7 separate regions of the Homo sapiens genome follow, and regions 2, 3, 4, 5, 6 and 7 are each linked to region 1. The links are contacts of gene promoters, found by promoter capture Hi-C in blood cells and fetal thymus (Javierre and others, 2016). All regions are on one chromosome and are shown on one strand. The core of a region is centred on a gene start or on the middle of the fragment in contact, and the rest is flanking DNA. Distances in the headings are between cores, read along the strand shown. Region 1 holds the start of NSUN6 (NOP2/Sun RNA methyltransferase 6). Region 2 overlaps PLXDC2 (plexin domain containing 2). Region 3 overlaps ST8SIA6 (ST8 alpha-N-acetyl-neuraminide alpha-2,8-sialyltransferase 6). Region 4 holds the start of LOC105376436 (a long non-coding RNA gene). Region 5 overlaps PLXDC2 (plexin domain containing 2). Region 6 holds the start of PLXDC2 (plexin domain containing 2). Region 7 has its middle 47 kb from the start of ST8SIA6.

The links. The method cuts DNA at HindIII sites, captures the fragments that hold promoters and counts their contacts. A CHiCAGO score of 5 or more calls a contact.
Region 2: a contact is called between a fragment that was not itself captured here and the fragment with the promoter of NSUN6 in region 1, in 1 of 17 cell types (monocytes). The highest score is 8.7, in monocytes.
Region 3: a fragment that was not itself captured here is called in contact with the fragment with the promoter of NSUN6 in region 1 in 5 of 17 cell types (non-activated CD4 T cells, total CD4 T cells, naive CD4 T cells and 2 more); the score reaches 17.6 in non-activated CD4 T cells.
Region 4: a contact is called between a fragment that was not itself captured here and the fragment with the promoter of NSUN6 in region 1, in 1 of 17 cell types (naive CD4 T cells). The highest score is 6.4, in naive CD4 T cells.
Region 5: a contact is called between a fragment that was not itself captured here and the fragment with the promoter of NSUN6 in region 1, in 1 of 17 cell types (M2 macrophages). The highest score is 5.2, in M2 macrophages.
Region 6: a contact is called between the fragment with the promoter of PLXDC2 here and the fragment with the promoter of NSUN6 in region 1, in 1 of 17 cell types (monocytes). The highest score is 6.6, in monocytes.
Region 7: a contact is called between a fragment that was not itself captured here and the fragment with the promoter of NSUN6 in region 1, in 1 of 17 cell types (total CD4 T cells). The highest score is 5.3, in total CD4 T cells.

The regions. Positions count from the first base shown.
Region 1 is chr10:18,649,204-18,653,344 of GRCh38, forward strand. NSUN6 (NOP2/Sun RNA methyltransferase 6) reads right to left here and starts at 2,384. Exons shown (of 11, transcript NM_182543.5): 1 at 1,926-2,384. The coding sequence starts at 2,000. RefSeq lists an enhancer at 2,524-2,623. The HindIII fragment of the contact is 3,002 bases long and covers 1,762-4,141 here.
Region 2 is chr10:20,004,222-20,008,362 of GRCh38, forward strand. All of the region lies in intron 2 of PLXDC2 (plexin domain containing 2), which reads left to right. Among named protein-coding and RNA genes, the nearest start is that of PLXDC2, 190 kb to the left of the region's middle. The HindIII fragment of the contact is 2,536 bases long and covers 899-3,434 here.
Region 3 is chr10:17,414,309-17,418,449 of GRCh38, forward strand. The region is part of intron 2 of ST8SIA6 (ST8 alpha-N-acetyl-neuraminide alpha-2,8-sialyltransferase 6); the gene reads right to left. Among named protein-coding and RNA genes, the nearest start is that of ST8SIA6-AS1, 29 kb to the left of the region's middle. The HindIII fragment of the contact is 1,519 bases long and covers 1,269-2,787 here.
Region 4 is chr10:17,435,199-17,439,339 of GRCh38, forward strand. All of the region lies in intron 2 of ST8SIA6 (ST8 alpha-N-acetyl-neuraminide alpha-2,8-sialyltransferase 6), which reads right to left. It overlaps LOC105376436 (a long non-coding RNA gene), which reads left to right and starts at 2,092. Exons shown (of 4, transcript XR_007062074.1): 1 at 2,092-2,122. The HindIII fragment of the contact is 4,359 bases long and covers 117-4,141 here.
Region 5 is chr10:19,834,011-19,838,151 of GRCh38, forward strand. The region is part of intron 1 of PLXDC2 (plexin domain containing 2); the gene reads left to right. Among named protein-coding and RNA genes, the nearest start is that of PLXDC2, 20 kb to the left of the region's middle. The HindIII fragment of the contact is 2,656 bases long and covers 576-3,231 here.
Region 6 is chr10:19,814,285-19,818,425 of GRCh38, forward strand. It overlaps PLXDC2 (plexin domain containing 2), which reads left to right and starts at 2,148. Exons shown (of 14, transcript NM_032812.9): 1 at 2,148-2,907. The coding sequence starts at 2,796. LOC124902388 (a long non-coding RNA gene) reads right to left here and starts at 1,944. Exons shown (of 2, transcript XR_007062078.1): 1 at 118-1,944. RefSeq lists an enhancer at 1,072-1,837. The HindIII fragment of the contact is 8,470 bases long and covers 1-3,197 here.
Region 7 is chr10:17,499,415-17,503,555 of GRCh38, forward strand. No RefSeq gene overlaps it. Among named protein-coding and RNA genes, the nearest start is that of ST8SIA6, 47 kb to the left of the region's middle. The HindIII fragment of the contact is 8,012 bases long and covers 1-4,141 here.

The DNA of each region.
Region 1 (4,141 bases), core at 1,134-3,633:
AAAAAGATGAGTAGCAAAGACACCTGTCAAATATGACGGTATAAAGACTCAACAATATTCCCTTGTAATTAACCGAAGCTTTTCAAGAAACGTATTTCTTTGTCTTCCTATTTGACTAAACCCTGCTTTACAGAATCTTCACAAACCACTTGTTAGCCTACTCATGCACCAGCCTTAAAAGTATTCATACTTTCTCAAGGTTTAGTCTTATCAAAACTGAACATTCAGCCTGGGCAACATGGTGAAACCCCATCACTACAAACAATACAAATATTATTAGCCAGAGTGGTGGCCCCTGTCTGAGGTCCCAGCTACTCGGGAGGCTGAGGTGAGAGGATCACTTGAGTCCCAGAGGTCGAAGCAGCAGTGAGCTGTGATCATGTCACTGCACTCCAACATGGGCAACAGAGGGAGACCCTGTCTCAAAAAAAAAAAAAAAAGGCATAAAACTTAATATTCCTTTCCCTTCAGTACTTTTCACAAAGGCATAGCTTTTCATTTTGTAAAACCATACCACTGATGAGACTCGAGGCAGAGGCAGTGTCAAAGAAAGACGTTTGGATCTTCTTTATAAAACGACGTTCTCCATTTTAAAATCTGCTGAAAAAATTGTGGTATGCCCCTACTTCTCCTAATATGTGCCTTATATTTTAAGTCCCTTGAAATCAACAGAATATATTTTCTCTTTCCATACAGTCTAGTACCTCAAGCTAATCTTTGGAAATGAAACGTAGAAATCAAATCTAAAAGGCATGGCTTCAATAACATATTCAAAAATGAGTAACATTTAAGTGGTGTTACTCTAACTAAGAAAACTAAAGATTTCAAAAAAAACAAAGTTGCTTAGAGGCAACATGGTAAAGTGGTAGAGAGGACAGGCTTTGCAATAAAAGACAATCAACATTTACTGAGGACTTCTGTGGCAGGCACTGCCAATTGCAAACAAAATTAACATTTTTTGAAGACTTACATGCCAAAACAATGCAAGTTGTTTTCATTTACGTTTAATATCCTAAAACAACCTGGTAAAATATTTTTAACTTGACTAAAAAATTAAAGATTTGAAAAAAAACAAAGTTGCTTAGAGGCAGCATGGTAAAATGGAATAGACAACAGGCTTTGCAATCAAAGATAATCAACATTTACTGAGGACTTTAGCAAATAAAATTAACATTTTTTGAGGACTTACATGCCAAAACAATGCTAGTTGTATTCACTTACGTTTAATATCCTAAAACAACCTGGCAAGATATTTTTAACCATTCTCAATTTTTCACAGAAGAGAAAAATCTAGGTTAAGCCACGTAATTTACAAAGCACTAGAATGCAAATCATGTGCCTGAGATTCAAAAGCTGTACCTTTGTTCATTACACCTGAACTCTTTCCCTCCAGATTTCAATAGTTACTTGATAGCTGTGTCAACTTGGATCAGTTACACAATTCCTTGAGCAGTTTTCTGCTCAAGTCTATTAAAAGAGGAAAAACCTCTAAGAAAAAAAAGATTGTGAAGATTAAAGATGCAAATCTCCTAGCACAACTGCTGGCATTTAAGAGGCACTCAACAAATTACAGAAACCTTTTCACCTGAGTGCCAGAGCCAGCGCTCTTTTAAAATTCGATTCGAGTTCTTGAAGACAGGGACCTTTTCTTGTTCATCCTTGTAACCCTTTGTGCCATGCCTGACAGGCACATGCCTTTTTTCCCTTCTTTTCCACTCCTAAATGTTAAAACATATACCTTATTCACTTCGTATCTCAGTAAGCTTTAATACCTGTAGAAACATATTGGTATTTTTACACTTGATAGACAAGTAGTAAGGAACGACGGCTGTCAAGATTTCCCTTTATACTTATTTCTATTTCTCTCGAGTGTGCGAATATTTGAGTTTTTGCAAAATATCAACTAACATCTTTACTTGACCTACCTCCTTATTCATAAAGCCTTCCTTAAGATAGTTTTCAACCTCAGGTCTCAAAGATATCTTAGGGAAAATAGACATTTTTCCTGTTGTTTAGTTCTCCACCAAGAGAAATGCTGGAAAACGGTGTTTTGTTTTTTTTTTTCTTTCCGAATTAATAGTGACGAGTGTCTTGACACCAGATGCTGAGGAAAATCTTGCCGATCACGCTGAGTTAATTTCGGAAATGCAGAGGTACACGCTTTCTCAAGCCTAGCCGATTAGAAGGGGCTGCCGGGCTTCCACCACACCTCATCGAGGCAATGTTTTCTGGTAGAGATGCTCATGGAAATCACTGAGCCAATGCCACTCACGTTGCAAAGAACCAAAAAAAGAAAAAAATGCTTAGTAACTGAATCCGTGGTGAAACGGACGCAGATCAGTAAGCCAGGCTGACAGCAGCTCGGTCCCTTTATCTTTTCTATCAATTTCCAAACACGCGCCCCCTATTTCTCGGCGGAAAGTCGCTTCCGGCTTACGTCACGTCCGGCGCCTGCGGCCCACCCCTCCCTTTCCGGTCCCCCAATCCACAGCCGCAAGTTTCCCCAACACTGCGTTACGCTACGCCACGCCCCCGGAGGTTCCTAACCCTGCGTGAGGCTCTTTCACCTGCCTCAGGTTAAGTAGGCAGACCCCGCGGGCGGGATGGTCAAAGATATTTAGTTCCCGGTACCGGAGGGCTAGGTGCCAGGGGCAATGGGGAAACAGCCAAATGGCGTGGGTTGAGTGGAAGATGTTGCTGGACTGAAAAAAGGCACAGCCCAGTTGCTGTCCTGCCAGATGTCCTCCAGTTAGAGGATGAGGCCAGAATTTGGGCGCATCAGCCACCGTTTGATTTCATGACATGATTTTACCTCTCTCAGGCATACAGATCTGACTTCAGTTGTGAAGTTCATAGGGTTCATATTTTTGAAAGTTGGGCTAATGGTCTGTTAATATCCAATGCTCAGGTAAAACTTAAAACCCACAGACAGTGTTTACAGTTAGTTATAAGGCTAACTGCTACTTGTATCATAGTTGACATATTCTTTAGAGTTTGGAAGACCCTCGCCATTATTTTTTTTTCTTTTTTTTCATCATAAGCAGACAAGGATATAGATTCAAAGAACGAGGATATCTAACCAAACTCACTGAGTCATTTTATAACTGTACAGGAAAGTCAAAATAATTCTATCACCTTGACATATGTTTTTTGCAGCACACCATGGTAATTTACACATAAGTATAGGAAAGGGTTTTTTATTGTTTTTTTCTCTTTAATTTTCACACCGAATTATACACACAGACACACACACATAGAACAGGTACTTTCCATGACACACCAACTCTTTACCAGAAAGAGTAGAAAATAATGAATGACCATTATACCACACAACAACCTGCAAGTTGTTTATCATTTTCTCTGCTCTTTTTTTTTTTTTTTTTTTGAGTCTCTGTCGCCCAGACTGGAGTGGAATGGTGGGATCTCGACTCACTGCAACCTCCACCTCCTGGTTCAAGAGATTCTCCTGCCTTGGCCTCCCGAGTAGCTAAAATTACAGGCATGTGCCACCAGGCCCAGCTAATCTTTGTAATTTTAATAGAGACGGGGTTTCACCATGCTGGCCAGGCTGGTCTCAAACTCCTGACTTCAACTGATCTGACTCTCTAGCCTCCCAAAGTGCTGGGATTACAGGCGTGAGCCACCACGCCCAGCCCATTTTCTCTGTTTTAAAGAGTAAATCAAGGTTCCTAGGGTTGAAACAACTCTCCATGTTCTCACAAATAAAAAGCCAGGATAAAGACTAGTAATTTGGCTTCTAGAGCCAATACCTTGTCCTTGACCATAGCATATTTCTTCAATAAATCCATGAGATTCTTTCATGGCTAAAACATCTGAAAGTGATAAATGTCTAAATCAGACATTTCCAAAGGAATTTCTGTAGCCTGAATTTCATGGTGACCATAGCACCACTGATGGCTAGAATCTGTATTTTAGCGATAAAGGAGGAGAAACAAGTTGAACTACATTTTAAACTCCACAAGGATAGAGACTTTATCACACCACTATGTACCCAAGCCTAATCCATAATGGGCACTCAAATACTTACTGAATGACTAAATGAAAAGATGGATGAACATCTCTATAAACTATGGAAAGAAAATGCTGATAAAGCATTTGCCAGAAATTACTTCACTAGTGC
Region 2 (4,141 bases), core at 917-3,416, 1.4 Mb after region 1:
ACAGCAATTTCTCAAACCCCACTCCATGGCATTAGCTATTATGTGGCCATGGTGTTGGCAGGCTGCCCCAGGCAGGTCGCTTACCAGGCAACGGTTGATGTGTCAGGAGCAGAAGTCTTATGATATCTATAAGAGGCTATTCTGACTCCTGCAGAGTGGCCTGCTATTTTGGCAATGATGATGTTATAGCAACTTGGGGTAGGCAACATAATTCTTCCCTGAGCCACTCTTTAGCTGGGGTGCAGCATCAAGAAAGGAGAACTGAATAGAAGCAGAGGCGTTTACTCTCTGCCCAGAACTAGGACTCGATGGATATTGAAAGGGAAAAACACATCCCTATTCGGCTAAAAGCCCAGACTTTGCCACGACAAAATGCAAAAAATCTGCACCCCCTAAGTATGTAAAGACTTTTAAATTTCTTCGAAAAAGGAAAGAGGAGAACACAGATTCCAAGAACTCTGTAATCTCTCCTGTGGGGTGCTGAATTTTCTTAATCATTTATAAAATAAGAAATCTCTTTGATTGGGGGTATATTAACACTCCTGAAAATACAATCCCGGTGGTTACTGTAGCTGTAATTTTGTGATTCAGCCAATTTTTCTACTTTCTACCTTAACAGAGGGAGACCACAAAGTGTCAGGTTTGAATCAGTAAAAAGAGGGCAGAAGGATGGCCCAGGGGACTGTTTGGTGGGTACTCACCCAGGGCTAAGAGCTGCCAGGTACTGTGTGGATGCTCTTTTGTTTGGTCCACAGCAGCCTTGAAAGATTTGTGTCCCTGTGTTTTCTGGGCAATTTCAATGATTTTTTTACACGAGGGCAATTTCAGAGTTAGGTTTTAGTATTTTCCTAAGGTCTCCCATTAATGAGCATTCAAACCCTGCTGGTATTCAAATGCAAGCTTTGCCAGGCTTACAGGGTTGATCCTCTAGGCTTGACGTTGCTCTTTCTAGCAAAAGGAAAGACAAATGACACTTGAATTATGTAGTGATTTTGAACAGCAGCAGCCCATGAGTATCCATAGGAGGGTAATTGTGGGGTTTCAGTCTGGCTCATAAAAGACTTGTTTTGAATCCAGGGTTGCATACTAAGAACACTGCTTTTATTTCAAGATTCATTTATTTTGTTGGGGTTCTGGGGATTGATGGAGATTATTGGGATCTAAAGTCCTCAAGTAGCTCCTTGGCACTGCCACTAGTTGCGGAAACAAAAATCTACCTCTGAAAGTTTGGAAAGTGTACTAGGCCATTTTTGCCTTCCTATAAAGAAATACCGAGACTGGGTAATTCATAAAGAGAAGAGGTTGATTTAGCTCACGGTTCTGTAGGCCCTACAGGAAGCATGGCTCCAGCATCTGCTTGGCTTCTGGTGTGGCCTCAGGAAGGTTTCAACCATGGCAGGAGGTGAAGTGGGAGCAGGCGTGTCACATGATGAGAGCAGGAACAAGAGAGAGTGAGGGGCATGGTGCTGCACATTTTCAAACAACCAGATCTCTCCTCAACGCACTCATCACCAAGGGAATGGCACTAAGCCATTCATGAGGGATCTGCCCCTGTGATTCAGACACCTCCCACCAGGCCCCACCTCCAACACTGGGATTACATTTCCAAATGAGATTCGGAAGGGACAAATACACAAACCATATCAGAAAGTTTTACGTATCCTGGCTCTTGAAATGGTATTTGTGGGCCAGGCGCAGTGGCTCACACCTGTAATCCCAGCACTTTGGTAGGCTGAAGTGCGCAGATCACCTGAAGTCAGTAGTTTGAGATCAGCGTGGCCAACAAGGTGAAACGTCATCTCTACTAAAAATACAAAAATTAGCTGGCGAGTGTCTGTAATCCCAGCTACTCAGGAGGGTGAGGATGAGAATTGCATGAGCACGGGAGTGTAGGTTGCAGCCAGCTGAGATTCCACCACTGTACTCCAACCTGGGCAACAGAGCGAGACTCAGTCTAAGAAAAAAAAAAGGTAAAAAAGGCATTTGTGAACACGGTTGCATCTCTTTTGGGGAAAATAGTTTTGCCCCATTGTTAAACAGAAATAAGAAAGAAACCAAATGGTTATAAAGTGAATACTCTGTGCCTGGCATTGTTACAAGGTCTTGCTTATCTTTTTGGTTTATATTGCTAAATACAAACAATGAGCTAGAAAGACTCTGTGTGCTTTTTTCCTTTAGACGCTTTCAAACTCAGTTTCAGGGGTCAGAATTATTTTGTCTCGTAGCCCTGACTGCAGTAGTGGCTGTTAAAATTATGTGTATCACAGTGAGACAAAAACCACCCAGAATGGTATTCCTCAGATGTTCTCCTCATTTTTTTTCATTGTCTCGACTTTATGTTCTACTTTAACTTAAATAAAACAACAACAACAACAAAAATCCCAAACCAACACAAGACAATAGCATGTTTACTGTTTTGACACAAAGGCTGTTATTCTCTTCACTTGGTACTTGGTGACAGTATTTTTTCTGGCTCTTCACAAGAACAGATAATGGAAGGATTGTAAAACTTGGTAGCCCAGTTAAAGAATTCTTCCAGTTAAGGTTTTGTTGTTGTTATTGTTTTCATTGTCTAATATTCTTCCCATGAGCATATAAAATCTCTAGAAGCCAACTGTATATCCTGTTGAATAAGCAGGGGCCCAACAGATGGCAAATGCCGCTATTGATCTGAATGTTGATTTCTGTGAGACCTTTCTTCTTGTATTTCCTCTGTTCATTCATACGGACGTATAACCACTTAGCCAGGTGAGAAGTAAAGTACCTTCTGCTGAAGTGTAGGTATTAAAAATGAGGTGTCGGGAAATAGTCACTGCATGTGCTACTTTGTATAATTATTTTGGGAATATAAAGGCTTACAGGGCTTTCAGGCAGGATTGGATTCCATTCATGATTTGGCCTTGTTGGAGCAGCCTTCACTGAATTCCACAACTCAGGGACATATGTGTAAATGAGCAGGGCAAGCATCTTCCCCTGGAAGCTGGCACCTTCCCATTATCTGGCATGAAGCTCTCATAGCAATGATAGCACCTCATAGGATGGAGAGTGCTTTGACAGTGTTGGCTGAAATTACTGATGCTTAATAAAGCTCAGTTTCATCAGCCTATTGCTGTAGAATAGTGTTGGTCACTTATAGTGTTCTTCACTTTATAGAAATCAGTCTCAAAGTCCTTTGTGACATGCTAGACCAGATATGTGGTTTTGAACACTTATTCACATGCAATATTTGGAAGTGTCCTATTTCCACTCTTGGGACATTGAAAGTGTTTATTAAAAGGACTGTACTGTGTGATTTTTTGCCTTGACTCAAAAGCCACTGGATGACTGAAGAAGGGAGGTTTTAAAAATAGGTATTATGGATCATATTAGTACAGTTTCATGATAAAAGTGACTCAGAGATTGGGAGCTAGGCCAATGCCTCTGAAACTTTAACAAGCTTACAAATCACCTGGGAATCTGGTTAAAATGCATATTCTGATTTCTTAGTTCTAGGCTTGAGCCGGTCTGATATTCTGTTTCTAATAAGGTCTCAGGTGATATAGTTGTGGGTAGGCCATAGGCCACACTTTGGGTTGCAAGGATTTAGCTATTAGTTTTGAGAGCAGAAATCTTAGCTTAAATTTAGGTGCCTGCCAACAGTATGTTTCATGGAATTCTCATTCTGGTACCTAATTAAAAATGTCAGTTGTATCCAGCAACTGTTGTATTATTCATGTGCATGGAAGTTCATATCTGAGGAAAGTACAGTCAAGAATGATCAACAAATATGTGTGATAGATTTAGCTAAAAAGTAGAGATAAACAGTTTTTCTCTTAAATGCATTCCTAAAAACTCTCTTTGATCTTCGGCTATCACACATACACTGCCAGTTGTGTTGGCATCTTATTTTTACAAATTGTGCAATATGTTTCTTTAAAAATTTTACCAGTTGCTAATTGCTGTACACAAGGTCATTGTGTGGGCTCTAATAGCTGATTGCAGCCTTTAACTAGAAAGTCTGTTTAAGAGGAAATAAGTCACCAGAAAATACTTAATCTAAAAAAAGAATGTAGGCCAGGCGTGGTGGCTTACGCCTGTAATCCCAGCACTTTGGGAGGCCGAGGCAGGTGGACCACTTGAGGTCAGGAGTTCAAGACCAGCC
Region 3 (4,141 bases), core at 778-3,277, 1.2 Mb before region 1:
TTTTCCTCTTTCAAAATTGTTATTTATTCTCCCGTCTCCTCCAACCTCCCATATCCCCACCTCCACACTCACTCTCTGCTGCTGATGACCTCACTTCATACTTTATTGAAAAAAATAGAAGCCTGCAGAGGAGCAACACTTTCATACTGCTCCCACTGTATCTAAAAATCTCTAAGTTTCTGTGCCTGTCTTAGTCAGCTTGGGCTGCCATAACAAAATACCATAAAATGAGTGGCTTAAACAACAGAAATTTTTCATCTCATATTTTGAAGACTCAAAATGTTGGCATCGTTGGTACCTGGTGAGGGCTCTCTTCCTGGCTTGCAGACAGCTGCCTGCTGGCTGGGTCCTCACATTGTCTTTTCTTGGTGCATGCATGAGGGAGAGAGTGCTAGTGTCTCTTCCTCTTCTTATAAAGACACCAGCCCTATCAAATTAAGGGGTAGCTCTATGACCTCATTTAAATAGAATTATCTCCCTAAAGACCTTATCTTCTAATATAGTCACATTTGAGACTGTGGCTTCAACATGAATTTTGGGGAGACAGAATTCAGTCCTTCAGAGTGCCTGTGTTTTTCATCTTACCATATGTTACAACAGAAAAAAATGTCCCTGCTCTCATCAAAAATCAGTAACCCCCAGTATGTTCTGGCTCCTGCCCGTCTCACTTTCTTAACATTACTGACCCCCTCATCTCTTCCTTCTCTTACATAACTAGGGTTATCCTTCTCACAAGCACACAAACACGCTCCTCCCTTGACTCCATAATCCCTCTCCATCTCCCAACTCATTTTTCTACCCCCTGTAAGCACCACTTCTCTAACAAATTATCTAAAATTACTGCTTCCCCTTCCTCAACAATCTATTCCCTCATCAGAAGACTTAAAACTGGCTAATGTAGCTTCTGGGACTCAGAAAATGAAAGCCCAAAATATGACACTTCAGACTTCAAACTGAGAGCACATGGAGAGCAGCAAATGCAGAGAAGGACTTTCCCCAAAGGTCCCTCCCTACCTAAACACAGGATTCTCCTAAGATACTCAATCATTGTCAATCGCTTCCCCAGGGTATCTCAATGACTGGGAGAAGACTGAAGCCTATCCCAGGAAAAGAAGACTAGAATTGATGACACACCAGGAGTCCAGATGGGCTTTGTCTCAGACTACCATCTGTTCTTCAGGCCCATTCATCTTCCCTAAAACTCATTTACTCCTCCTCTAAATTGTCTGCATCCCACCCTTCCCCCTCCCTGTGAAGAAGGGTATATAAGCTTCTAAATCCCATTGGGTCATTGGACACTCACCTTCCTGGAATGCACGCATACACATAATATATGTGTTAGCCTTTTCTCTCGTTAAGTGATCTGTTAGTTTATTTCTCAGACTCAAATATCAGACATGCAGAGTGGAAAGAAAGGGCTCTCTCACCCAACATGGCTCATCTCAAGCTCATCAAAAGCCCCCATGTTCCAAATTCAATGGACGCCTCACTTGTCTTTTTTTTTTTTTTTTTTTTTTTTGAGACAGAATCCTGCTCTGTCACCCAGGCTGGAGTGCAGTGGCATGATATCGGCTCACTGCAACCTCCACCTCCCAGGTTTATGCGATTCTCCTGCCTCAGCCTCCCGAGTAACTGGGATTACAGGTGCGCCACCGTGCTCAGCTAATTTTTTTATTTTTAGTAGAGACAGGGTTTCACCATGTTGCCCAGGCTGGTCTTGAACTCCTGACCTCAAGTGATCCACCGGCCTCAGCCTCCCAAAGGGCTGGGATTACAGAGGTGAGCCACTGTACTGGGCCGCACTTATCTTACTTGATCTTTCAAGAACACCTGACCCAGTCAACTGCTCCTCTTCCCTGAAAACCACATCACACTCTCCTGGTTTTCTTTCTGCATCCCTGGCTGCTCCCTCTGCCTCTCCTTTGCTGGCTTCTGCTTCTCTTTCAAGCCTCTAAATGTGGGAATACCCTAGAACTTGCTCCTAGATCCCCTTTTCTTCTCCACCTATCTCCAGAGCTAAGTGAGCTCATTCTACTCTCTGGCTTTGAGTCCTATCTCTCTGGCGATGACACCCAGATTGATATGTGCAGTTCTGACCTCTCCCTTGAGCTCCAGACTCATTTATATGGTCGAAATGCCCATCTGACATTTCCAATTGGACGTCTAATAGTCTTGTCAAATGTAGCATATCCAAAACATAACCTTTGACTTCCCTCTTTTCCAGTCTTCCCCATCTCTATGGATGGTAATGAACTGCTCAAGCCAAACATTTATCATTCGGATTCCTGTCCTTCTCTTCTCTCCTATACCCGGGCTTTTGACGATTCAGCCGTAAATCCATCTACTTCTCTTTATCGGTACTTCTATTGCCTCATTCAAGGCACATCAGCTCTTGTCTGGATGGAAGCCATGGCCCCATAAGTAGTCTTTCTGCTTCAATTGCCTGACTGCCACACATTCTCTATGCAGCTATCAGAGTACTCTTTTAAAAACTTAAATCATACTTGTCATACATGACATATTGTCATGCCCTTGCTCAGAACCCTTCTGAGGCTTCACTTATTATTAGAATAAAACTCATCCTCACCAAGGCTTGCATCCTACAACATAACCTGACTTAGTAGGTCTATTTCCTCCTTTGCTCTCTGTATTGGTCCATTTACATTGCTGTAAATAAATGCCTGAGACTGGGTAGTTCATCAGGAAAAGAGGTTTATTTGGCTCACAGTTCTGCAGGCTGTACACAAAGCATCGTGCCAGCATCTGCTTCTGGTGAGGGATTCAGGAAGCTTATAATCATGGCGGGATGTAAAGGAGAGCCAGCACATCACATGGATAGAGAGAGAGAGAGAGGAGACAGTGCCAGGCTTTTTGAAACAACCAGATCTTGTGTGAACTCAGAGAATAAGAACTCACTCATTACTGCCGAGACATTCATGAGGGATCTGCCCCCATGACCCAAACACCTCTCACTAGGCCCACTTCTAACACTGAAGCTCACATTTCAACATGAGATTTGGAGGGGACAACCATCCAAACCCTATCACCCTCCATGATCCATTCTTTCTGCTTCTCAAATATGCCATGTTTAGGGCTGCTGTTCCTCTGCCTTGAGCGTTCCTGTTAGTGCTTCAGGTCTTAACTCGAATGTCAACCCCTCAGAGTGACTTTTGCTACTCCCTATGGAATGCTCACCTCCCACCCCCGCCATCAGCATTTATTTCGACTTCTTTCCTACCACTTAGCACAGTGAGCTCCAGGAGGGCAGGCTTTTGTCTGGCATGCTCCCTGCACATTCTCCAGCACCAAGCACAGACCTGGCACACAATGAATGTTCACTGAAAGAATGAAGTTGATCTCAGACTCTCCACCCAGCTCCAGGCTGCCAAAATAAGCCCCTAATTGCCTTCCCTGCTTCTCCTTTTGTTCCTGCCCCATCTGTCTCCTAGGGAGAATTGTCTCAGCTAGACCAGTCCTGGGCTCTTCACACATCAGAGTTAGAGAGTTGACAGGGAATTAATAGAAGATAGAACCTGAAAGGCTTAGGAGGGGTAAGACTTGGAGAAATCTGTTGTCAGTCAAAAATAATAAAGTACAGAGGTGTATGTGAGGAGGTAGGGGAGGGAGTACAGGAAGGGGAAAGAAATCTATATAGTCCAGGTGTAAGTGAGAAAGTTCTTTCAGCATTTGTCAAACTTGAGTTTGGGAGAGGGTGTGGGAAATAAATAACTGAGAAGAGTAAATGGGATTGCAGCATAGATGAGGATTCTGAATTAGGGCCACTCTGTCACCCAGGCTGGAGTACAGTAGTGCGATCAAAGCTCACTGCAGCCTGGAGCTCCTGGTCTCAAGCAATCCTCCCACCTCAGCCTTCCAAGTAGCTGGGACTACAGGCATGTGCCACCAAACTCAGCTAATTTTTTTTTGCATTTTTTTGCAGATATGGGGTCTTGCTTTGTTCCGGCTGGTCTCAAGCTCCTGAGCTCAAGTGATTCTCCCAAAGTGCTGGGATTACAGGCATGTGCCACCATGTGCAGCCTGGAGCCCTTTTTATGTACTTTAAGAAGAAGGAAAATAAGGACACAAATTTTTTTTCTGGCATGTTGAGTTGTGCTTCCTGAAATACCAGCCTGGGCTGAAT
Region 4 (4,141 bases), core at 1,046-3,545, 1.2 Mb before region 1:
GGTATGTGGCTTCTAGGCCAAATTCTATCACTTCCAGGTCTCCCCAAGGTCCTCTGTCCCCAAAAGCCTGTCATATGTGCTCACCTCCTTCTTCCAAGTCCCCTAAATGTCCAGAAAGCTTTATCTCCATTTCCTATGAGACACACTGCAGCTTATCTCTGTTTCACCATCTGGAGCCTAATTCCCATGAGGGCAAAGACCATGAGGAACACAGCCTTCAGCTTTGTGGCCTGGGACAAGTTACTGACCTCTCTGTGTTTTGGCTTCTCCTTTGGTAAAATGAGAATATTACCAGTTCTACATAATAACATTGTGGTGAGAATTAAATGAAATCATACTAAGCTGCTGAAACCTGGCACTTAGGAACAGTTGAATAATTGCTAAACTTCCTTGGTTCTATTCAGCTTGACACAAAGCCCCATAGATCACAGGGACTCCCATTTGGGTGACTATTCTCTATCTTAAACAAACAGCATTTCAGCCCTGACTTGAACTGCTTATAAAATGGGGGGTTGGGGGGGTGGGGGGCAGGCAATACAAGAAATCTGAATATTAATGGAGAATTTTGCCCATTGTGTCTGTGTCTCACCTCAAGATATTTTTTATAACAATGTGGATTCCCTAACGAGACTTCTTAAAAGTTGATGCACTTCAAAAAGTTACATCCTCTCATATCCCAACAACAAAATTACTTCTGTGAAAGTTGATTATGTGAATTGGGTGATTCTTGCCATACCCAAATAAATCAGAGTCTAGGGACCAGCGGAGGGAAAGCATTCCGCACATAGCACCTGTTTCAAAAATTATCCACAAACCCAGCTACTAAAACAATGTGCTGTAACCCTAAGATGAGTTTTACTTAGCAGCTGCTGGAATCACCTGCTGCGACTCTAAGACTAGTTTTACTTACCACTGTCACTCACCAGTCAGAGCTTGCCAGCTCCCAAAACCTTCTATCGTGCCAATGAGCTTTCTTTCAAAACAATACATAACACTTGTCTTACTGATAAAACTCCAATATTGTTTGGCTGTGTCCCCACCCACATCTCATCTTTAATTCCCACATGTTGTGGGAGGGTCCCTGGGGGGGAGGTAATTGAATCATGGGAGCAGGTCTTTCATGTGCTATTCTCATGCTAGTGAGTAAGTCTCACTAGATCTGATGGTTTGTTTTTGTTTTTGTTTTTTTATACTGTAAGTTTTAGGGTACATGTGCACAACGTGCAGGTTTGTTACATATGTATACATGTGCCATGTTGGTGTGCTGCACCCATTAACTTGTCATTTAGCATTAGGTATCTCTCCTAATGCTATCCCTCCCCCCTCCCCCCACCCCACAACAGTCCCTGGTGTGTGATGTTCCCCATCCTGTGTCCAAGTGTTCTCATTGTTCAATTCCCACCTATGAGTGAGAACATGCAGTGTTTGGTTTTTTGTCCTTGTGATAGTTTGCTGAGAATGATGGTTTCCAGCTTCATCCATGTCCCTACAAAGGACATGAACTCATCATTTTTTATGGCTGCATAGTATTCCATGGTGTATATGTGTCACATTTTCTTAATCCAGTCTATCATTGTTGGACATTTGGGTTGGTTCCAAGTCTTTGCTGTTGTGAATAGTATCTGATGGTTTTATAAAGGGTAGTTTTCCTGCACAAGCCCTCTTCCCTTGTCTGCCACCCTGTGAGATATGCCTTTTACCTTCCACCATGATTGTGAGGCCTTTCCAGCCACGTGCGACTGTGAATACATTAAACTTCTTTCTTTTGTAAATTGCTCAGTCTCGGGTACGTCTTTATCAGCAGCGTGAAAACTAACTAATACAAACTCCCAACCTTCTCTTTGTTCTTCAGGCATACCCAAGAACACTCCATCTGTGTGTATGCCCCAAATTGCAATTCTATGATTCCCAAATAAAACATTTCACTTACAGATTCATTTCTCTCTCTCTCTCTCTCATACGTATTTCACATATATTTGAGACAGGGTCTTGCTCTGTTGCCTCAGGCTGGAGTGCAGTGGCGCAATCACAGCTCAATGCAGCCTTGAACTCCTGGACTCAAGCAATTCTTCTGCCTCAACCTGCCAAGTAGTTGGGACTACACATGTGCCATCACACTCAGGTAATTTTATTTTATTTTTTAATTTTTAGTTTATAGAGACATGGTCTCACTATGTTGCTCAGGCTAGTCATGAACTCCTGGCCTCAAGAAATCCTCTTGGCTTGGCCTCCCAAAGTGCTGGGATTACAGGTGTAAGCCACCATGCCTGGACAATCTCTATATTTTATTTTGATTTCAGCATACTTGGTGTCAGAAGTGGGGTCTGAAGCAGACTCACCTTGGAGAGATCAACAACAGGCCCTGGAACTATGGCTTGTGGTACCCACATTCAGGCCCCTTGGACCCCCTGTTTCCTTCCTTCCTTCCTTCCTTCCTTCCTTCCTTCCTTCCTTCCTTCCTTCCTTCTGTCTCTCTTTCTCTTTCTCTTTCTCCCTTCCCTTCCTTCCCTTCCTTCCCTTCCCTCCCTTCCCTCCCTTTCTCTCTTTCTCTCTTCCTTTCTTTCTTCTGTCACCCAGGCTGGAGTGCAGTGGCCCAATCTTGGCTCACTGCAATCTCTGCCCCCTGGGTTCAGGCGATTCTTCTGCCTCAGCCTCCTGAGTAGCTGGGACTACAGGTGGGCACCACCATGCCCAGCTAATTTTTGTATTTTTAGTAGAGATGGGGTTTCACCATATTGGCCAGGCCGATCTCGAACTCCTGACTTCGTGATTCATCCACCTCAGCCTCCTAAAGTGCTGGGAATACAGGTGTGAGCCACCATGCCTGGCCATGCCCCCCTGTTTCTGTAGGTTGCCTCTTTTACTGCCTGTTGAGTCTCTCTTGGACTAAACTCTCTTTTTATTTTATTTTACTGAGCTTGATTTTATTTGGGAATTGGTTATGAGAGGTCTTTCCCTGTCCTGGTTATGAGATCTCCTGTTTAGAAAGGGTTTTTTCCCCTCCTGGTTACAGGGACTTTTCCCCACTGGAGAAGAGTTATCATCTTTCTTGATAAGTATGTACTTTAGACTCCAATTCATTTGCACACTTAAGAGTTTAATTTGGCTTTTGTGTATTCGGCATTAAACCGAATCACCTAGATAAATTTATTTACAAATGGGCTCTCAAAGTTCAAAGGCATGCCAATATAGCTCCTAGCTCTGGGACCCCAGCTGGTAACATATACAAACATTATGGAGATTATTCAAAGAGTCTGTTTTTCTGAAAACTAAACTAAAAAAAAAAAATGACACCTATAAAATCACACAGTCCAAATAGGACACATATCTCAATTGGTATCTGAAGGCTCCAAAACACATTCAGGACTCAAAGACTGCCTGTGAGCTAGCTGAGACTTTCCAGTCCAAAGCCTTTCCCTTCCCTTCCTACACCTCCTCCTCTTTATCTTTCTCTAAGCTAAGCTCTCTTTTTCCAAAACTCCTCAGCTATTCTGTCATACTGACTATTTAAGTAAAGACACTTGGAAACCAGAAGATAACAAAGAAAATCATTTTGACCTTTGCGGTATTTATTAAAAGCAAAAGATTAAATTCCCATGTAAAAGACACTTCCTCTGTACTAAAAGGAAAGGCAAACTCTCATCTTTGAGGAAAAGGGATTAAGACCAAGAGAATATTGCACAGACCTTGTTAGAATAACTCTTACCTTTTGAGCCTCTTCACATAATTCAGTCACATTTTCAGAGTTAACAATTCTTTTTCAATCCAGTGTGTTGGTCACTGACTCAGACTGCTTTACCCAAAATGTGCTTCACAGCCTCCATAAGATGACATATTATGGCAAATAAAAAACACAAACCACCTTCCAAACTACAGCTTTTTACAGTTTTACAGTTTCTACTTAATTTCAAGTTGAAAATGCTATCTTCTTCATTTAAAATGATAATTTCATTTCTTCCTCTTCCAGCTTTTCAGATTCATATCTCAAGTGTTTAGGTATTCAGCTTTTTACACATCTCACTACATGTGATTTACAGGTCATGCATTATTACTTTCTGTGCTTCTTCCCTCTCTTTTTTTTTTTTTTTTTTTGGAGTTGGGGATGGAGCCTCTCTCTGTCACCCAGACTGGAGTGCAGTGG
Region 5 (4,141 bases), core at 654-3,153, 1.2 Mb after region 1:
AAACATATGGGCAATAGAAGTGGACGTCTTCATGGTGTTATTTGAAAGCAATGGAACCAGTCCTTGTTCCTGCATGAACTTGCAGGTTGTCATTAACTTACAGAGTCATTTATTTGGGTTTAGTTAATATATCTTGGAAAATGTGAAATATTGCAAGGAGGAGGAATGGTCATCCATATCTTCTGCATTTGAAACCTAGAACAGGTGTGCTAAAAAGACAGGTATAGTGTCCAGGTTTCAATGGACTGGGAAAGGAAGCCTTTGGCAAGGCCCCTGGTTAGATCAAGAACAGCACAAAATCACAGAGAAAGAGAGAGGTAGAGAGAGAGAGAGAGAGAGAGAGAGTGTGTGTGTGTCTGTGTGTGTCTGTGAAGAGACAGGGGTTAACAAAGGCAAAGGGACAGATATACCAAAAAGGGGCTGAGAGAAAACTGCTCAAGAAAGAGGTTGGGGTCTCTGAGGACCGAATCAATATCCCATTTGCTACACTATCTGTATACCACCTATGCCACCATTTCAATACACATCTGGCAATAGACTGTTTGTTAATATTATCAGACATTAGTAACTTTTCAAGCTTCCCAAATTATCTAATTGGATTAGCCTATAAACTAAACAAAATTGGCTCAAGATGTAATTGTTTCGAAAGGACTGAGATGACTGAATTAAAGTGACATTAATATGCTGTTAGGTTGGGGTTGATAGTGAGGTTTAGCTCTGAGAAGAATTATTTATTCACTATACAAACATTTGCTAGATGTATCCTATGCGCCTAGCATTGTGATGTGAAGGGATACAAAATACAGCCTTTGCCAGGTAGAGGTTACCATGAAGTAAAAAGGACAATTGTAAGAAAATGTGATGTGTGTATATATGTGTGTGAGAGAGAGAGTGGGTGCATTCACTATGGCATTGAGAAATGGGAGCATAGGTCTTAGCCTAGAGAGTCAGGGAAGGCTTCCTAGGGAGGTATGTCTGGGTCTGCATTTGAAGTGTGAGTGGCAGGAGGGCAGAGATGATGGAAAGGCATCCTGAACAGAGAGAACAATCCTGGGGCAGAGAACTGTGAAATCTTCAGGGAACTGCCCTTGCCTGTTGGGCAAGAGCAGGCACAAGATTAGGAAGGGCCTTGCACACCTAGCCGGGTGTTGAATTCTCCCATGAAGTTGACAGTTGGCCCAAAGTGCTGAAATTTCAGACTTGAGCCACCGCACCCAGACAGGTTTTTTATCAGCTGAGTGACAAACTCAGATGGGCTCTTCAAAGGGTCTCTCTAGTGTGGAGAGCAGCTAGGAAGGGCAGGTCTAGAGATAGACCAAATTCAGCACTACTGGATCAATAAAGATGGAATGTGATGCAGGCTTCAGATAAGAGGAGGATAGCTAAGATAATTCTCATGTTTTCCAGGTGCTTTAGGGAATAGAAACATGAGCTCAACCTTAGACTTGGCGAGTACTGAGGTGCTCATGGGACATACCAGTGAAGACAGCAACTCTCCCAGGACTGGGGCTCAGCAGGGAGGGCTCAGATGAGTTCAGGATGTCAAATCATCGAGGTGTATCTGGTGGTGATGGGAACCAGCCAGTGAGCAGGAATAATCAGAGAAGAGCAGAGGGTCAAGGTCAGAGTCCTAGAGAGCTGGTCTGGGAAGGGGAAACTGAGGAATGGGCCCCCAGGCGGGAGATATAGGAGGAGCCACCTAGAGTGAGAGGCAGATTAGGAAAAGCATCACTAGGACAGATCAGGGAATTCAATAAGAGTGGTTTTGGTGGAGGAATGGTGGCTAGCTGGTGGCAGATTGTGGTAGGGTAGTGATGAAGATCAGAGAAGGATGCAGTAAGGTGGATGACGTGCCAGCCTTTTAAAAAGCATGGCTGGGATCTGGGTGTGGTGGCTCACAGCCATAATTTCAGCACTTTGGGGGGCTGACATGGGAGGATCGCTTGAGCCCAGCAGTTTGAGACCAGCCTGGGCAACAAAGTGAGACCCCATCTCTACAAAAATAAAAATAAAAAAATTAGCAGGATGTGGTGGTGCACATCTGTGGTCCCAGCTACACTGGAAGCTGAGGTGGAAGGATTTCTTGAGCCCAAGAGGTTGAGGCTGCAGTGAGCCAAGATTGGTCCACCGCACTCCAGCCTGGGCAACAGAGTGAGACCCTGTCTGAAAAGAAAACAAAAAAAAGAGTATGGTTGGGAAGTAAATGACAGAGAGGGAGTGGCCAGAGGGGAACATAAGAGAAGAGAGGGTTTTTTGCCGGCAAAGGAGATTTGAGCTCATTTATAGGCATGGGGGAAGACAATCAGTAGGTGCATAAGTGAGTTGAGAATCTATACTAGCAATACAGGAAACCATGTTAGGATCACTGTCTCAACAAAAATGATCACAGCCTTCCAAAAATGCAACTTGACTTTAAAAAGGCTTTCTTTTATCACTTGCAAGAATATTGCTGTGACACCTAATAAAAATTTAATTAAGGCTTAGATGATATCACGTTTTATGTAACCTGAAGTCCTTAAATCCATGAAATCACTCAAATAGAATCAAGTTTGTTGGAAAGAGAATCTCATCTTAAGAAGTGGCAGCAGGAAAAATGAGTAAGTTCCATTTTATTTTATCAGTGAAGTCTGGGGCTACGAAATGGTTCTAACAGCATAAAGAAATAACAGCTGCATTCAAGACCAGGATATGTAAAATAATTTGTTTAGTTTCAGCCACTTTTTAAAGTCAATTTTACACCCTGAAAGAAAGGCAATCCTGACTCCATTGTTCTTTCGCCAATAAGGAGATCGGGAATTACAATAATAAATAGAAGAAAGAATGTTGTTTTTCCTCACTGTAATTAATTTTATGGCTCTTGCGAAGATGAATTTTTGTGGTGATTAAAATAGTCCCTTGCACATATTAGGTACTCAGTAAGCATTTGTGAAATAGGGACTTTCTAGCCTTTATTTGTGTTTAAGGAATCAGGGAATAAGTTCAAAATTGCCTTTCAAGAAATTTTTGGAACTCTCTTCTCACTAAGAAACTGTAAAGTCTTATAAAAGAGACATTATTTATTTTCTCCAAGTATTGCTTGCGAGGTGAATTGAAGGTTTTTTTTTTATCAACAGTTGTTTTATAAGATTGTTTGAGGACTAAAAGGGCTGATTGTAATCACCTGTAACATGTTACCCAGCAAGACATTCCTCACCAGGTTGAAGTAAAAAAAAGAAATGAAGTGAAATATCAAGCTTATGCAAGTTTGAAATTACAAACAAGAACAAAAGTTAAAACACATAAGCCCTTCTTATCAGTAGGTTATCTTTCAGGATAGATCATACGGTTGTTTCTCTTAGTAATTGCAACATTGCTCTGTTTTCTCATTGAGTAAGTGAGAGAGAGAGAGAGAGAGAGAGAGTGTGTGTGTGTGTGTGTGTGTGTGTGTGTGTGTGTATGTGTGTGTTGGTGGGCAGGCAGAGACAAATAAATGAGTTGGAAAGAAAGTAAAAGATGATAAATGGGTGGCTTAGGTCAGGTTCTGATAATTTTACAATATTTATGGGTGAATGCTAAGGTGGTTACATAGTTTGTGCTTGCTGAAATGATCCGACCTAGTTTAACTTTGTAATGAGTTGCAAACACAAAAACACCAAAATGCAAAATTAATGGATTTTGCAATTTGTTTTATAAGACATGCAGAAATGCAAACATAGAATATAAATGTGCATCAGTCTGCAGTGATCGTTCAGTTTGTAACTGAACTTGTTAGGTCATTTATCATTGTTTGCCTATGTAAATTGCTTTGTCACATGCTTCCACATAAATCAGCAACCGAGGCCTGTCCTTTTTGTTTTGGTTTAGTTTATTTCTTGTTCATGTAAGACTCTTAACCTGACAAGATATTAGCAAAAAGTGACTAACGTAAAACCATTTCCTCTGTCCATTACTTGCATTTTGGTGAAACAAGAAGGAAAAAATAGTTACAATTCAATAAATTTATATATTTATTGATTTATTTATTTTTGAGACAGGGTCTCATTCTATTGCCCAGACTGGAGTGCAGTGGTACGATCATGACTCACTGCAGGCTCCAACTCCTGGGGCTCAAACCGTCTTTCCACCCCAGACTCCCAATATTTTTAAGTTTTTTTGTAAAGAC
Region 6 (4,141 bases), core at 898-3,397, 1.2 Mb after region 1:
ACAGTTGATTAACACATATTTGGTATGTTCTACATATTACATACTGTATTCTTAAAATAAAGTAAGCTAGAGAAAAGAAAATGTTAAGAAAATCATAAGGAAGATAAATATACTTACTGTTTATTAAGTGGAAGTGGATCATCAGAAAGGCTTTCATCCTCATCGTCTTCACATTGAGTGGGCTGAAGCGGAGGAAGAGGAGGGGTTAGTCTTGCTCTGTTAGGGGTGGCAGAGGAGGAAGAAAATCCATGCAAAAGCGGATCCTCGCAGTTCAAACCCCTGTTGTTCAAGGGTCAACCGCACAATCAGGTTTTGATGAGAAGACTCAGTTTTCAAACTTGATTTTAAGCAGGTATATATCCGGGTACTCAAATTCGGATGTAATATTACATAGAACTTAAACACTCCTAGTTAAGCAGAAATAGAAAAACCCAGTTACCTAAGTAGAAATCAACCTATGGGAGGAAAGCTCAGGAAAGAGCCAGGGTCCTGGCATAATAAAGAGTATAGGCATGATATATGTTTGTGTTTATACGTGTATATCTGTTGTTTGGAAATAAAGAGCAAATTGAGTATTGGATTAAGGGAAACCTTTCTTGTTTCCCATGAGAGAGCCGTCCTTTGAGCATCACATTTGCAAAGGTAGATTGATTATCCGGATCCACTTCCAGTGGGTTTTGTGGCAAGCCGAGACATCTATTGACAGCATCCATAGACTCTTCAGAGCTTGGAGTGGAAAGGACCTTGAACTTAGAACACATGCACATTTATTATGTGATTGAAGTCGTCTTCTCTCACTTTTGCTTCAGTAAACACTTAAACAAAGCCATGTACTTTGCGGTAGGCAATGTTCTATATTTATTAAATATACAGTTAACTCATCCAATCCATTGCAACCACCTTATAAGGGCGTTACTCTAATTCTCTCCATTTGATGGATGGATAACTGAGGCTAGGAGATAAACTGCTCATTGCGGGGGAGGTGAAATTCCAGCCCAGGCTGTCCGGGCTCTAGATCCTGTACTTTTAACCAATAGCGCTTTGCTTCTTTTCCTTGTATTTATCCCTTTCAAAAATGATTAACTGTATGCAAAATAAGATATCAACTAACGAGAGGGCCGGCAAGGGTTAACGCGGAAACAGATCCCCGAGCTGAAAAAACAAAAACAAACTGGGGAGCCAGAGCCCCTGAAAGCTCCGGTAGGAAATTCAATGGGCCTCCTGTTCCTTTAAACTCTCGCTTTCGCCCCCGCTGACACTTTGCAAAGCCGCGGCGGCAGCGGCGGGGACCACGCTGCGGTGCACCACCTTCCGCCACCCTCCCGCGCTGGGCTGGGGTCGAGGGGGCTTCGCAGAGTCGGTAACCGAACCGGCTCTGGTTTGCTTTCTCCACTCCCTAGCCACTACCAGAACCAGCCTCCGCGAAGGGGCGAGCTGTGGTTAACCCTTTCGTGCCCAGGGAGACCCCGCCAGGGTCGGGGCGGGGCGCGATCGCCCCCCGCAGTCGGGCGCGAAGGCGGCCCGGGAGCCAGGTGGGTGTGGGGCGCAGTTGGCGGAGCTGCCCAGGGCGTGCGAGCAGGCTGCGAGGATGGCGCCCCGGCGGCGCGGAGGTACCGCCCCGCGCTCCCCCGATAGCTCCCCGGCCTGTCCCCTCTCCCCGCGCTCTGGGGCAGCCGGCTGCCTGGGGCGCACGGGGCTGGAGTGGCCCTCTCCCTCCCCTTCGCTAGGCTCCCCCGGCTTAATCTGTTGGCCGCGACTCCTCAGCCAGCCCCGAGGAAAGTGCAGCCATTGGACAGGTCTGTGCGGGCTGCCGGTTTCAGGGAGGAAGGTGGGAGAAGCCTGGAGGAGCGAAGGGGAGGGCGGAGGGAGGAGGGAGGAGGGTGCGGCGGCAGATCTGGCAAATTGCGAGCTGCCTTCCCTCCTCAAAGTGTGGAGAAGGAGCGCGGGGGAGCGTGGCGACGGCAGCGCCTCCTCCGCCACCAAACTCCTGGGGCTCCGCGGGGGCTTGGGGCCACCTCCTCCTGAGCCCGGAGGAACCCTCTCCCGATAGGTTCCAGCGTGACTCCCTCCCACTCCACCCTTTTCCTTTCTTCTTCCTCTTTTTTTTTTTTTTTTTTAAACACATTTTTTTCCTGGCTTCGGACCTCAGACTGCTGCAGCCCTAACCTTCCCAGGGCTCAGCTCTTTGGAGCTGCCCATTCCTCCGGCTGCGAGAAAGGACGCGCGCCCTGCGTCGGGCGAAGAAAAGAAGCAAAACTTGTCGGGAGGGTTTCGTCATCAACCTCCTTCCCGCAAACCTAAACCTCCTGCCGGGGCCATCCCTAGACAGAGGAAAGTTCCTGCAGAGCCGACCAGCCCTAGTGGATCTGGGGCAGGCAGCGGCGCTGGCTGTGGAATTAGATCTGTTTTGAACCCAGTGGAGCGCATCGCTGGGGCTCGGAAGTCACCGTCCGCGGGCACCGGGTTGGCGCTGCCCGAGTGGAACCGACAGTTTGCGAGCCTCGGCTGCAAGTGGCCTCTCCTCCCCGCGGTTGTTGTTCAGTGTCGGGTGAGGGCTGCGAGTGTGGCAAGTTGCAAAGAGAGCCTCAGAGGTCCGAAGAGCGCTGCGCTCCTACTCGCGTTCGCTTCTTCCTCTTCTCGGTTCCCTACTGTGAAATCGCAGCGACATTTACAAAGGCCTCCGGGTCCTACCGAGACCGATCCGCAGCGTTTGGCCCGGTCGTGCCTATTGCATCGGGAGCCCCCGAGCACCGGCGAAGGACTGGCGGGTGGGGTAGGGAGGTGGCGGCGGCGGCATGGCGAGGTTCCCGAAGGCCGACCTGGCCGCTGCAGGAGTTATGTTACTTTGCCACTTCTTCACGGACCAGTTTCAGTTCGCCGATGGGAAACCCGGAGACCAAATCCTTGGTAAGTAAGATGCACTTTAGCTTGCTGATTTTGTGCGCAGCTGAAGACCTCTCTGGCACTCTCGTGCTCCCTACCCTCTCCCCCCAACATCACCTATCTGCCCTTGGGAAACTTATTGCAGTTGCTTTTCGGCTAAACTTAGGCTTCCCAAATGGGGAAAGAGGGTTATCAAGAGAAGGACGCCGGGGACTAGGGGTTTTCTTGAGGCTTTCGGGCTTACTTCACCTGGGCGGCAGGGGGTGGTACTGTCTCCCCAAAGTAGCCCAGGGAGGGCTTCAGTGTGAGAGCAAAGCTTCTTCCGTGGATACATCTCCTAGGACCTGGCATCTCCAGGCTGTGTGCTCTCCGGCTCCTCCTCCTTCCTCGCTGCTGGTTAAACTAAGCGTGTGTGGTATGGGGTGGGTGGGGGACGTTGTGAAAGCCAGGGATTGCAGGTCTCCCCTCTGCACGAGAAAATTCCCTGTGGCAGCACCTTCCTTCCCCTGGCGATCCCCACTAGCTCCGTCTAGTGACCTGGGCCAAGCGGGCGCTGGAAGGGGGGCGGGGTAAATGCGGCCGGCGCAGAGGTGGGGAGCAGGTGGGAAAGGTGGAGGCGGGCTCGCCTCTGGAGACCTACCCCTGCTCCCATTGTCCTCCGCCTGCCAGCTTCACAGACAGGCCTGAACGCGCAGAGAGTTCCTTGGAGTGCCCTGATTTTGTCCCCGAGAGGGCCCCCAACCTCCGCATCCTCTTAGTGGCTGTCCTGGCAGGTGCGCGTCCTGCGGGGAGTTGCGCCCCGGGGGCTATCGCCGAGCGGGAGCTGCCTCCTGGAACCCTGCCCACCGCGAACTGGGTGCCTACTCCCCATTTCTGCCTTTCAGTGAAGAAAGTGAAGACACAGGCAGAAAGAGATCTTGGCAGAAATTGGTGAACTAGGGTGGACTTCGAGAGGAGGTGAAACGAGAGAAAAAGAAAAAAGAAAAAACTTGGAGGGAAAAGAAAAGAAAACGAAAACTTTCTCCCTAGGATAATCAATTTGTCAATTTGTTCTTTTCTGGTGTGTGTGTGTGTGTGTGTGTGTGTGTGTGTGTGTGTGTGTGTGTAATTTAAATGATTGCCCGGAAAGTATGCATGCGTCCTCAACAGTCAACTAGAGAGTCACAGATGGAAGGTTGGGGGACACCTGGGGATTCCAGGCAAGGTGAATCTTGAAGATCTTGAAGGAAACCCTTGAGTGAAATTTACCAAGCCGCGA
Region 7 (4,141 bases), core at 859-3,358, 1.2 Mb before region 1:
ACAACTGATGGTACTAGGCTTAATACCTGGGTGACGAAATAATCTGTACAACAAACCCCCATGACACAAGTTTACCTTTGTAACAAACCTGCACTTGTACCTCTGAAAAACACAACTGGTGATACACGTTTCAAGTGTGTCTGTGTGTATCTATAGTCTTTCTGTGAGCTACAGAATGAGAGTAAGACTCCTCCTTGTCTATTTTGACCTCCCACTGTACCCTGACCAGGACCTGCTGTAACAAATTTCTTCTCTTTCTAGTCTACGCCTTTGTATCTCATTTACCTCTTTCTCCACATGATGCTTGAGGCACCATACCGACTCCACTTTTCTCAGTTTATTAAAATCTACTGGGCATGGTGGCTCACACCTATAATCCCAGCATTTTGGGAGGCTAAGGCAGGAGGATCACTGGAGGCCAGGAGTTCGAGACCAGCCTAGGCAACACAATGAGACCCTGTCTCTACAAAAAAAAAAAAAAAAATTTTTTTTAATTAGCCAGGCATGGCGGCACGCACCTGTAGTCCCAACTACTTGGGAAGAGGCTGAGGTGGGAGAATTACTTGAGCCCAGGAGATCAGGGCTACAGTGAGCTATGATTGCACCATTGCACTCCAACCTGGGTGACAGAGTGAGAACCTGTCTCTGAAGAAAAAAAGAAAAATCTGGCCAGGCACGGTGGCTCACATCTGTAATCCCAGCACTTTGGGAGGCTGAGGTGGGTGGATCACTTGAGGTCAGGAGTTCAAGACCAGCCTGGCCAACATGGCGAAACCCTGTCTCTACTAAAAATACAAAAATTAGTCAAGTGTGGTGGCATGCGCCTGTAATCCCAGTTACTCAGGAGGCTGAGGCACGAGAATCGCTTGAACCTGGGAAGCGGGGGTTGCAGTGAGCCAAGACTGCACCATGGCACTCCAGCCTGGGCAACAGAGTGAGACCCTGTCTCAAAAAAAGAAAAAAGAAAAATCTACACAAATGTGCTCCTTCTATTACTAAAACCAGGATCAAATGACTAATTTTATTTGACTGTATGTGATAACTGCTTTCAAATTCATGACCATCATTCACTCTGCTTCTCCTTAGGAAATTTTTGTCTCATGGGTGACATATGTTTTGTAGGAGTTTGTGTTTTCCTTTTTGCTTTGGCTTCCTGGATGCTCAGGGTCAAACTTGTAACCCAATTTAGTAACTCCAATGGCCTTATGCCTTGCATTGCTGCATAATATGTTATTTCTTCTTCTTTTATTTATTTTTTTTTTGAGACAGAGTCTTGCTTTGTCACCGAGGCTGGAGTGCAATGGGCTCAATCTCAGCTCACTGCAACCTCCACCTCCCAGGTTCAAGCGATTCTCCGCCTCAGCCTCCTGAATAGCTGGGATTACAGGTGCACACCACCACGCCTGGTAATTTTTGTATTTTTAGTAGAGACAGGGTTTCTCTGTGTTGGTCAGGCTGGTCTCGAATTCCTGACCTCATGATCCGCCTGCCTTGGCCTCCCAAAGTGCTGGGATTACAGGCATGAGCCACCACGCCCGGCCCATAATATTTTCTAGTTTGTTTTATCTTGCTAATGAATGTAAATTTTTCTCTGGCCTTGATTTTTTAAATTACTCTCATATTATATATAGCTTTTAGACCCTCATCAAAATTTTTGTAGAGTAAATGAAAGTATACACATATGTATACATATAAATGCATATTATTTATATGTGTAAACTTATACATATAAATAAGTCCTTCAGTTATAGAATGCTGTTGAGAAAATCAGAGGTATTTTTAGGAGGGTACAACTAAGACAAAAGATTAATGCCTCTTTAGGAAAATACGCCTGAAATAAAATAACATCATGCCTAATAATTATCCTCTAGTTATTTTCCTGCAGCCTTACCACACTAATCCATCTATCGTCTTGAAATTATCTGTCTTAAACACAGATTAAATCACATTACTTATATAATTTACATAATCATAGTACTTACATAATTATCTGTCTGAAACAAAGATTTAATCATATTACTTTTCTGCTCTGGAACCTTAGATGACACGATTACAGAATAAGGGCTGAATTCCTAGGCATGGCATTCAAAATCCTTATAAGATACCACCCTCTTGGCTCGGCGTGGTGGCTGACGGCTGTAATCTCAGCACTTTGGGAGGCTGAGGTGGGCAGATCTCCTGAGATCAGGAGCCTGGCCAACATGGTGAAACCCCATCTCTACTAAAAATACAAAAAATTAGCCAGATGTGGTGGCGGGCACCTGTAATCCCAGCTACTCAGGAGGCTGAGGCAGGAGAATTGCTTGGACCCGGGAGGCAGAGGTTGCAATGAGCCGAGATCACACCATTGCACTCCAGCCTGGGCAACAAGAGTGAAACTCTGCCTCAAAAAAAAAAAAGATTCCATCCTCTTACCTGTTAAGCCTTTGCTCTCTTCCTAGATCTAACGTATTCTCCTCGCAAAAAAATTTGGACTACGTGTTTCTGGACATGACCTGCCCTTTTTTCTCCATCTTTGAGACTTTTCTTCCTCCCCTTTTTCCAAAGCCCACAGAAAATACCTCTTGCCTTCCTTCCTTCTGACCTGACATACTTCCCAGCCTGGGTTAATTTTAAGAACATCAACATGTTAATGATCCTCTTAATGAACATATGATTTTAGAACAACATAACAAACTGGTGTTCTCTTTTGTATTGACATTGAAAACCTTTTGTATCATCACTTCTTCCCAAGCTCACCTCAAGAAGTCTATCTTTTAGCCCAACATGTTCTCCCTTCTGTGACTGGTGCTTATTCTCTAACATATTTGGAAGCAATAGACCTTAATAATTGAGAGGTGTGGCTGTGAAGTTAACTCAACTTGGGTTCAGCCCACTTACTTCACCTCATCTGCAAAATAAGATGATAACACAGAAAACTTTAAAATACATCCATAAATTATTTGACAACGCTCTCATGAAGAGGCAGAGTCTGTGTGCCCTCCTCTTGAAACTAGGTACACTTGTGGCTTGTTTGTAAACAATGAAATGCAGGAGAAACGACACTCGGTAACTTCTAAGACTAAGCAAAAAAAAAAAAAGTTACGCAGCTTCTTCCCTGTTCACTGAGATATTCACTTGTGGAGGCTTAAACTAGCATTTAAGAAGTCCAATTACTCTGAGGCCACCAGGCTATGAGGAAAGCTAGGTCATACAAAAAGGCCCTTGGCTAAATGTCTGGTAGGAAGCCTCAACTGAATTCCCAGCCAACAGCCAGCATCCATTGCTAAGCATGTGACTGAAGACCTGTCCAGGTGATGCCAGCCCTCAATTGTGAAGTTCCCACTTGTTCATTGAGTCTTCCCAGTTGAGGACCAGCCTTCATGGAGCAGAGACGAGCCATTTCTGTTTTGCTCTGTCCAAATTCCTGAGCTACAGCCTGCAAGAACATAATAAAAGAGTTTCTTTAAGCTACTAACTTTGGGGATAACTTGTTATGTAGCAAAAATAATCAGAACAGAAATTTCACACCTAGAAATAGAGTGCTACTATACCAAAAATCTAAAGCATGAGGCGTTGACTTTGAAACCACTGTCTAGCAGCAGCTGAACGGGCTTTGAGGAGACTGTTATCATCTTAGGCTGGAGAAGGCTGTTGGTGGGGACTTGCAGACAAGCAAGGAAAATGTCATTAGAAGCTGGAGGAAAGCAAAATCATTTTGCCTAGTGGTGAAAGTCTGGCCACACTGTCACATGTGGTAATGTGAAAAAAACAGAAAATGTTGGATGAAAAATGTGGTACATATACACCCTGAATACTACTCAGTCATTAAAAGGAATGAAATCATGTCTTTTGAAGAAACTTGGATGGAGCTGGAGGCCCTTATTCTATGGAAGTAACTCAGGAGTGGAAAACTAAATATCGTGTGTTCTTACTTATAAGCGGGAGCTAAGCTATGAGGATGCAAAGGCATAAGAATGATGTCCTGGACTTTGTGGAGGAGTTGGGAGGTTGGTGAGGGGTAAAAGGCTACATATTGGGTACAGTGTACAGTGCTCTGCAGATGAATACTCTAAAATCTCAGAAATCATCACTAAAGAACTTATCCCTGTAGCCAAAAACCAACTGTACTCCAAAAACTATTAATAAAAAAATTAAAAAT